Regions from separate parts of the Homo sapiens genome. Here regions 2 and 3 are each linked to region 1. Evidence: promoter capture Hi-C in 16 types of primary human blood cells and fetal thymus (Javierre and others, 2016). All regions are on one chromosome and are shown on one strand. Each heading gives the region's core, a stretch centred on a gene start or on the middle of the fragment in contact. The rest is flanking DNA. Distances are from core to core; before and after follow the strand shown.

The links. The method cuts DNA at HindIII sites, captures the fragments that hold promoters and counts their contacts. A CHiCAGO score of 5 or more calls a contact.
Region 2: a contact is called between a fragment that was not itself captured here and the fragment with the promoter of CDKN2B in region 1, in 2 of 17 cell types (naive CD4 T cells and activated CD4 T cells). The highest score is 7.1, in naive CD4 T cells.
Region 3: a contact is called between a fragment that was not itself captured here and the fragment with the promoter of CDKN2B in region 1, in 2 of 17 cell types (naive CD8 T cells and naive CD4 T cells). The highest score is 6.7, in naive CD8 T cells.

The regions. Positions count from the first base shown.
Region 1 is chr9:22,008,020-22,010,606 of GRCh38, reverse strand. It overlaps CDKN2B (cyclin dependent kinase inhibitor 2B), which reads left to right and starts at 1,302. Exons shown (of 2, transcript NM_004936.4): 1 at 1,302-1,809. The coding sequence starts at 1,654. All of the region lies in intron 1 of CDKN2B-AS1 (CDKN2B and CDKN2A antisense cis and trans regulatory RNA 1), which reads right to left. RefSeq lists a silencer at 1,761-1,960. The HindIII fragment of the contact is 2,577 bases long and covers 1-2,012 here.
Region 2 is chr9:21,446,150-21,448,736 of GRCh38, reverse strand. No RefSeq gene overlaps it. Among named protein-coding and RNA genes, the nearest start is that of IFNA1, 7.0 kb to the right of the region's middle. The HindIII fragment of the contact is 529 bases long and covers 1,022-1,550 here.
Region 3 is chr9:21,464,836-21,467,422 of GRCh38, reverse strand. The region is part of intron 2 of MIR31HG (MIR31 host gene); the gene reads left to right. Among named protein-coding and RNA genes, the nearest start is that of IFNE, 16 kb to the left of the region's middle. RefSeq lists a silencer at 1,231-1,310. The HindIII fragment of the contact is 535 bases long and covers 1,048-1,582 here.

The DNA of each region.
Region 1 (2,587 bases), core at 53-2,552:
TGGCACTTCCACTGCCTTTAAAAGAAAGAGCTTTTTTTAATTCTACAGGGATTTGGGGGATGAGGAGTCAGAGCTAAGGTATCCTAAAAAAAACATGTGAAGACTCTCATTTTGCAATACACAAGCAATTGCCCTCCTGTTAAGACTTTGTCTTCCTCAGCACTCCGAACCAAAATGATTCTGTAAACAAAAATTGTTCACTTTTAGGAGAGGTCCACTTATGCAGTTCCTCACCAAAGTTTTTAGGCAACAAATCCATAACTTGCGGTTCTCTTCCTATCCAATGTAGCATCCGCTGAAATGTTTTAAATATTTTAAGTAATAAATGTTGATTCAAACTCACCTAGGAAGATTAGGAAGGGGAAAAAAAGCACTTGGCATTTAAATCTTCAGAAGAGAATTTAATGACAGGTTCAGCCTGTTTAATGACAAGCCCAGCACCACACCCCTCTCTTATGATGTTTCATTATTACTGCATAAATTTCCTTTATTACTCATGATAAATAAAAATAAGATACCTGACAAAGTGGGTTTAAATAGGTAAGAGTGCAAACAAAGATTTACTGTACAAATATGATGAAACTGGGATCTCAGATTCTTAAAGTATAATTTTTTTTTGTCTTATGTGTGCCAGGTTGCCACTCTCAATCTCGAACTAGTTTTTTTCTCTTTTAAGGGTTGTATCCATAATGCAAAAATGGAAAGAATTAAAAAGCACACGCAAAACATGATTCTCGGGATTTTTCTCTATTTTTATGGTTGACTAATTCAAACAGAAAGACACATCCAAGAGAAAATTGCTAAGTTTGATACAAGTTATGAAACTTGTGAAGCCCAAGTACTGCCTGGGGATGAATTTAACTTGTATGACAGGTGCAGAGCTGTCGCTTTCAGACATCTTAAGAAACACGGAGTTATTTTGAATGACTTTCTCTCGGTCACAAGGGAGCCACCAACGTCTCCACAGTGAAACCAACTGGCTGGCTGAAGGAACAGAAATCCTCTGCTCCGCCTACTGGGGATTAGGAGCTGAGGGCAGTGGTGAACATTCCCAAAATATTAGCCTTGGCTTTACTGGACATCCAGCGAGCAGTGCAGCCAGCATTCCTGGCGGCTCCCTGGCCCAGTCTCTGGCGCATGCGTCCTAGCATCTTTGGGCAGGCTTCCCCGCCCTCGTGACGCGTCGGCCCGGGCCTGGCCTCCCGGCGATCACAGCGGACAGGGGGCGGAGCCTAAGGGGGTGGGGAGACGCCGGCCCCTTGGCCCAGCTGAAAACGGAATTCTTTGCCGGCTGGCTCCCCACTCTGCCAGAGCGAGGCGGGGCAGTGAGGACTCCGCGACGCGTCCGCACCCTGCGGCCAGAGCGGCTTTGAGCTCGGCTGCGTCCGCGCTAGGCGCTTTTTCCCAGAAGCAATCCAGGCGCGCCCGCTGGTTCTTGAGCGCCAGGAAAAGCCCGGAGCTAACGACCGGCCGCTCGGCCACTGCACGGGGCCCCAAGCCGCAGAAGGACGACGGGAGGGTAATGAAGCTGAGCCCAGGTCTCCTAGGAAGGAGAGAGTGCGCCGGAGCAGCGTGGGAAAGAAGGGAAGAGTGTCGTTAAGTTTACGGCCAACGGTGGATTATCCGGGCCGCTGCGCGTCTGGGGGCTGCGGAATGCGCGAGGAGAACAAGGGCATGCCCAGTGGGGGCGGCAGCGATGAGGGTCTGGCCAGCGCCGCGGCGCGGGGACTAGTGGAGAAGGTGCGACAGCTCCTGGAAGCCGGCGCGGATCCCAACGGAGTCAACCGTTTCGGGAGGCGCGCGATCCAGGTAGCTGGGGCCCCAGGGCCTCGCCGGCAGGGGGCGCGCGAACGCGGGGCGCGGCCTCGGCGGATCGGGGCTGGAACCTAGATCGCCGATGTAGATTTGTACAGGAGTCTCCGTTGGCCGGAGGTGTGCATTCCACGCGTAAAACAGGCTTTTACCCAGCAAAAATCCTAAAGAGAGACATTGAAAAACCCACTGTTTAAGCTTTTTTTAGTGGTTTTTGTTCTGCCATCTCATGATCAGAGATGCAAGGAATAGACTGAATTGGGGAGAAAAGGAGAAAAGGAAAGCTTATTTAGGGAAGAAGATTATCTTGTCTGTCTGCTTTCAACGATAAAGATAAGTAAAGTATAAGTTACGCATTCTAGATTGGATTTAAGGAATTCTACAAAATCATAGTACATGGAAAAAATCAATGTAAACTTCTAAGCTACTATATGAAATCTGTTGTATTGTTTTCTCATAGAGGTTAATTGAGAATGAGACGGGATTCCTCAACCACAGTACTTAGTTCCTTTTATGTTAGCAGTGTCTTATGAGTGATGCATAAGAGAAAAAATATATAGTTCTATAGGTTTCTCATTCTTTAATTATCATACTCAGTGCCCAGATTACAAAAATATTCCTGCAGCAACTGTTAGGTCCTTTTTGAATGGCAAAGGATCTTCATAAATAATGCATCTTTATCTTCATTGTTAAAATACACTTATTCAATGTTTAAGTACGAATCCTGCTTTAATTAGTACTGATATTTTTTATTTCTTTTACAATCTCGGACAAC
Region 2 (2,587 bases), core at 37-2,536, 560 kb after region 1:
AATTCTACCCTGTTGACACCTGTGGCAGTCACTATATTCTCTGAAGTTACTTTATGTTAGTGCTCTCTAAAACTATTGAATCCAGATGGAACTGATGCAAGCTCATTCCTTATTCAAAGGGAAAGTAAGAATTTTCTCAATTATAAAGTCGAGGGGCATGATCTGATAGGAGGAGTAAATTAGTAAAACTGACAACTTACGCTAAAGAGTTAATGTACCTTCAATCAGGACAGTTTTCCTGATTTCCCTTGAAGTGCCACAGTCAGATGGGGTGGCTCTCACTTCCACGTGACCTGCAGTAAGTAGAGTGAGGGACGAGTCAGGAGGTCCTGGGAGGCTGCATAGGCTGGAGGCAAGGGACACCTCCTGCCCCTTTCTCTCCCCAGAGCTGCCCATTGTCCAAAGAGGACATGTCCTGCCTGAAGCTGGGAGTATATCCCCTCTCTAAGACATGAAATTTAAAGAAATGGGCTCATTCCAGTGTTTGGGTCAGTTCTTTCCAGGAAATTTCCTCCTTTTAGCTCTGAAGAAAAAGCTGGTGGAAGGCGACAGACTTATACAGAGAACAGACTTGCCCACTGTCTCTGGTCTTGGCAGGTAGGTGGCTCTCTCACAGTGTGAAGTTACCCTTGATACCCCAAAAGCCAAAGAGATCAGGGAACTCAAGGCAAGGGAGAGCAGAGCTCCAGATGCAAGAAGGACCCACCCATGACTCTTGGGGTTCCTGAGGAAGACAGAGGACTCCATGTAGTGGGGGGGTCTGTGGCACCTTTTTTTTTTTTCATTCTTCAAGGAATCCCAGGCTTTCTAGAAGTCTTCTCTACATCCCTTTATGTGGTAGCCAGAACTCTGATGTTTCTGCTTAGTAATTTTCCAACCACTGACCACTAAATGCAGAGGCAGGGGCTTGTCGATGATAAGAGAGACCTAGATGGAAGATTGAAGGTGGCAGAAGGAAGGAGGGACAGAAGTAAATGGAAGAAAAAGTCTTAGAGGAGCCAGACTGGGTAGGTCTTAAGCTTCCCAAAAAGGCCAATGAAGTTTTACTCTTTTTTTTTTTTTTTTTTTTAACCGGTAAAAATCCTGCCTACAAGAAAGGAAGCAAACAGAGGAATCAAGTTTATAATAAAAAAAGTTTAAGTTTACTGAAAAAAATTCCCATGGGATAAACAAGAACCTAAGGAGAAAATCAGAAAGACTCTTAAAAAAATGGTAGCCTGGATATCAGCTTTAAATTAAGCTATTATTTGACCACAGAGCTCTTTTAAAAAAATACTTTTAAATCCCTTATCAGATTTCAGCAAGAAAAAACAACCAATATTTCTAATGTTTGAAACTTTCTTTTTTTTCTCTTCTTTTAAAACAACGATACCTACCAAGCGACTCAGAACCAAAACCAAGTCTTTTGTGACTTAACCAAGGATACATGAGACATCATTAAAGAAATGTAAAGATGCAGCCCTCTCAAAATTCAGAGCTACCCCCACAAATAGCCAAAAGAAAGAAAGATTTAGATGCCTTGAGAGCTGGCAATAGGCAATATGTAAGCTTTTAATGGGAGCCTCCAACATTTGTTTAGCCCCCTTCACACACCAAAGTGTGTCCTGACAGGCAGCAAGCCAAGTTGGGTTCTCAGGACACAAAACAGGAAAATGACAGCTGTTCGTTGAAGGGAAAGGATCAATAACAAATGAGTCCCTGAAATCCAAATTTACATAAGAGAACAGTTCAAACAAATGATCTCCTGCTGACCTGCATTTGGAAAGTAAGATATAAAGATAAATTTTTACCTTTAGTTCTTGACCAGAAACTACAGGCAGAGATTCAGAACTCACCTTGGTAAAAATTCTTACCTTTATTTGCCAGCTCTTTATCAGTTGTCCCAGGACCTCATCAATAGGTGAGTCAGGTGCTTCAGACATCCCATCTTCATCATCAGAACTATAAGGGCAGAAATAGTGTGATCTCTTTCCTTCCTATCAAAAGGGTCACAGCTGACACGGCTATAATAAGGCAGGTTAACAAGCGAGAAGCATAGCACGTTTATTTAATCATCGTTTTATATAACTATGGAAGCCTTCAAAATGAAGACCCAAAGTACAGGAAAAAACTATCCATTTTTATGCTTACATTCCATGAGGAATGGGCAGCTGTGCAGAAATGTGATTAGACAAAAAGGGCATCATCTAATGCTAATATTCTGAGTAGGGGAAACCCAGCAAGGCCTTTCTGGTCAGATACTTCTTGGCCTCTCCATGCACCATTCCTTCCTCTTGGGTATGTGGCAGAGCTCTTTTTGGAATGGGGGTCTTAGTATCTACAATCAAACAAGGCAGGTCAGAGAATTTCTTTATGGCCAGTTCAGTTCTTACACACAAAGGTAAGGGAAAGTTCAAGTAATGTTTATAGGTTTTTATGGCTGGCTTTGGAGAGAAAGGGCTCTGGTTTCTATTACCAGCCTTGGGAAAGAGAGTTTCTACTTTTTATGGCTAGCCTCGGGAGATGAGGGGTGACAAACAGGAGGGCAGGAGAAGGCCAGAGAGAAACTTTGCTTCTGAGGCTGCTTCTTAGATCTTCACTTTGGCGT
Region 3 (2,587 bases), core at 66-2,565, 540 kb after region 1:
GTGAATAAAAAGATCAGCTTCAATCTGAAAGATGTTATTTACAATACATTTACCCAACAAAGTAGTTGTATCTAGGATATATATAAAAATAACTAAAATAAAAAGAGAAATCAATATCAATAAGAAAAGGAGAAAGTGCTTACCAAAAAGAAAGATTGGAACAGGAATTTCACAAAAGAGACTATCCAAATGGCTCATAAAACTTGAAAAAAACAACACACTCAACATACATGAACAGTATGGATGATTTCACAGACATAACATTGAGTGAAAAAGCTAAATATAAAGAAAAACTAAAATGTGTTTTCATTTATAGAAAGTTCAGAAACTTCAAAAACCAATTTATGGTAATAGGAGGATACAAGAGTGGCTAGATTTATGATGTGATGTTCATTAAGAGGGAACAAAAGGAGCCTTATTTTTACCCTACATGACCAAATTGTCTTCATGTTATAACTTTAATTCCTCTTGCTTGTTTCATAATGTTTTACATTGTTATTATTTCACCACAATATTAAATATTTCAGGGGAAAGTAGACATTGCTGCCTTTTACCTAATTTTTTAGAAGAATATTTTTGTTTATAATTTCACTTGTTTAAAAAGAAACATGCCTGATCTCATTTGCACATATCTGTTTCTCATTAATTTGAAGTCTTAGAAATTATGACTGAATATAATTTCTTTGCAAATATCTCATCAAAATATTTGAGATGATAGTTTATTTTTCTTATTCAATATTGATGAACAGATTGTTTTAAATTGTTCCCAGTAGTTGGATCAAAAATCTATGTTACTGATCACCTTATCAATTGGAAAAACTAGTGTGGAAATAATTTTTAAAAATGTCTTCTATGGGTCTTTCAGTTTAAGTGGTAAATATATTTATGGGAATCTAGAATAAATAAATAACACAGAATAAAGTTTTAAAAGGTAAGCATAAAATCAGTGATATTAGCCTAATACTAGTTCTAGATTGTTATTTATTATCTAATCTGACCCCATTAGACCTTCCAATATAATTGTTTTTTAAGGGATATTTGGAAGCTTTTCCATCCTTATTTTTTATAACTTAGCTTTGTTCTCTGGTGTCTCTTTGATGAGCAAGGCATTTAAGCAGTTGAGTGTTGGTTAAAAAAAAAAGTCTTGGCTGGGTTCATTAATGATGAACATAACATGGCCTTATGTTAATTAACCAAATGTACTTACTAAGACACATGAATATCTAGAGTTATTTTGTTTCCTTACTGTTGATACACCTCATGTGCAAACACATTCCAGTGATGAATGCTAAATGTTATTCTGCCCTCTACTGGTTCAAACTGGACTCTCCCATTTAGATGCATTCCAGGAAAACAGCTTCAAGGTAGAATCTTTTTTTTTCTTTTTTTTTTTTTTAAGACAGGATCTTGCTGTGTTGCCCAGGCTGGAGTGGAGTGGCACAATCACAGCTCACTGCAGCCTCAGCCTCCCCAGGCTCAGATGATCTTCCCATCTTAGCCTCTCAAGTAGCTGGGACTACAGGTGTACACCATGCCTTTTCTATTTTTTGTAGAGAAGGAATTTGGCCATGTTGCCCAAGCTTATCTCAAACTCCTAGGCTCAAGGGATCCTCCTGCCTTGGCCTCCCAAAGTACTGGGATTACAGGCATGAGCCACCACACCCAGCTAAAGGTAGAATCTTAATGAACATTTCCCTTTATAAGCAAAACAAGTAAAACACCAGGAGAACAGAGCATGTGACCCCACCCACCCTGGCCACTGGCACTCAGGCTGTCAACAGCTGCCAGAGCTTCTGACCCAGTGTTCCTAATTCTGTGGGAACTTAAACAGTGGGTGCAGCCTCCTGTTTTCCCAGGAAGCATCTAGACAGCAGGGCAGGCATTCCCATCCACCCTTGCCACTGGTAGCCCAGATAAGCCATGTCCACTAGAACTTCTAGATTGGTGGTCCTATTTCTGCCTGAATTTGCAAAGCGGCACAGGTTCCTGTTGCCCCGGAAACACCTGCATGACAGGGAGGGTAGCCCCACCAACCCCCACCTCTCATAGCCAGATGGCCCACACCTGCTAGAACTTCCAACCCAGCGGTCCCACTTCCACCTGAACTCTGTGGACAGGTGTAACCCTGTGTTTCCCCAGAAAGCACACAGACAGCAGATTAGGGCTGACCTGGCATGGATACAGCATATCTGCCAATGGTGGCCCTGCCTAAGGGAGTCCTGCGGATCAAAACACCCAAAAAAAGAAGCACAGGCATGTAGGCAGTAATCGGGGGGGCTCCTCCAAGACCCAGGAGCAGACTAATATTGAAGCCTGTCAACTAAACCCAACTTATACCATAATCAAACCCCCAAGGGCATCAAAGAAAAAAAGAAAATATCCATCAAAAGGACAGAAACTTCAAAGATTGAAGGAACATCAGCCCACACAAATGAGAAAGAACCAGCACAAGAAAGAACCAGCAAAAAAGCCAGAGTTCCTTTTTTTCTTTCAAACAACTGCACTAGTTCCAAGCTGAGGAAAGAATCTCAGAGCTCAAAGACTGCCTCTCCTAAATAACTCAGTCAGACAAAAATAAAGAAAAATG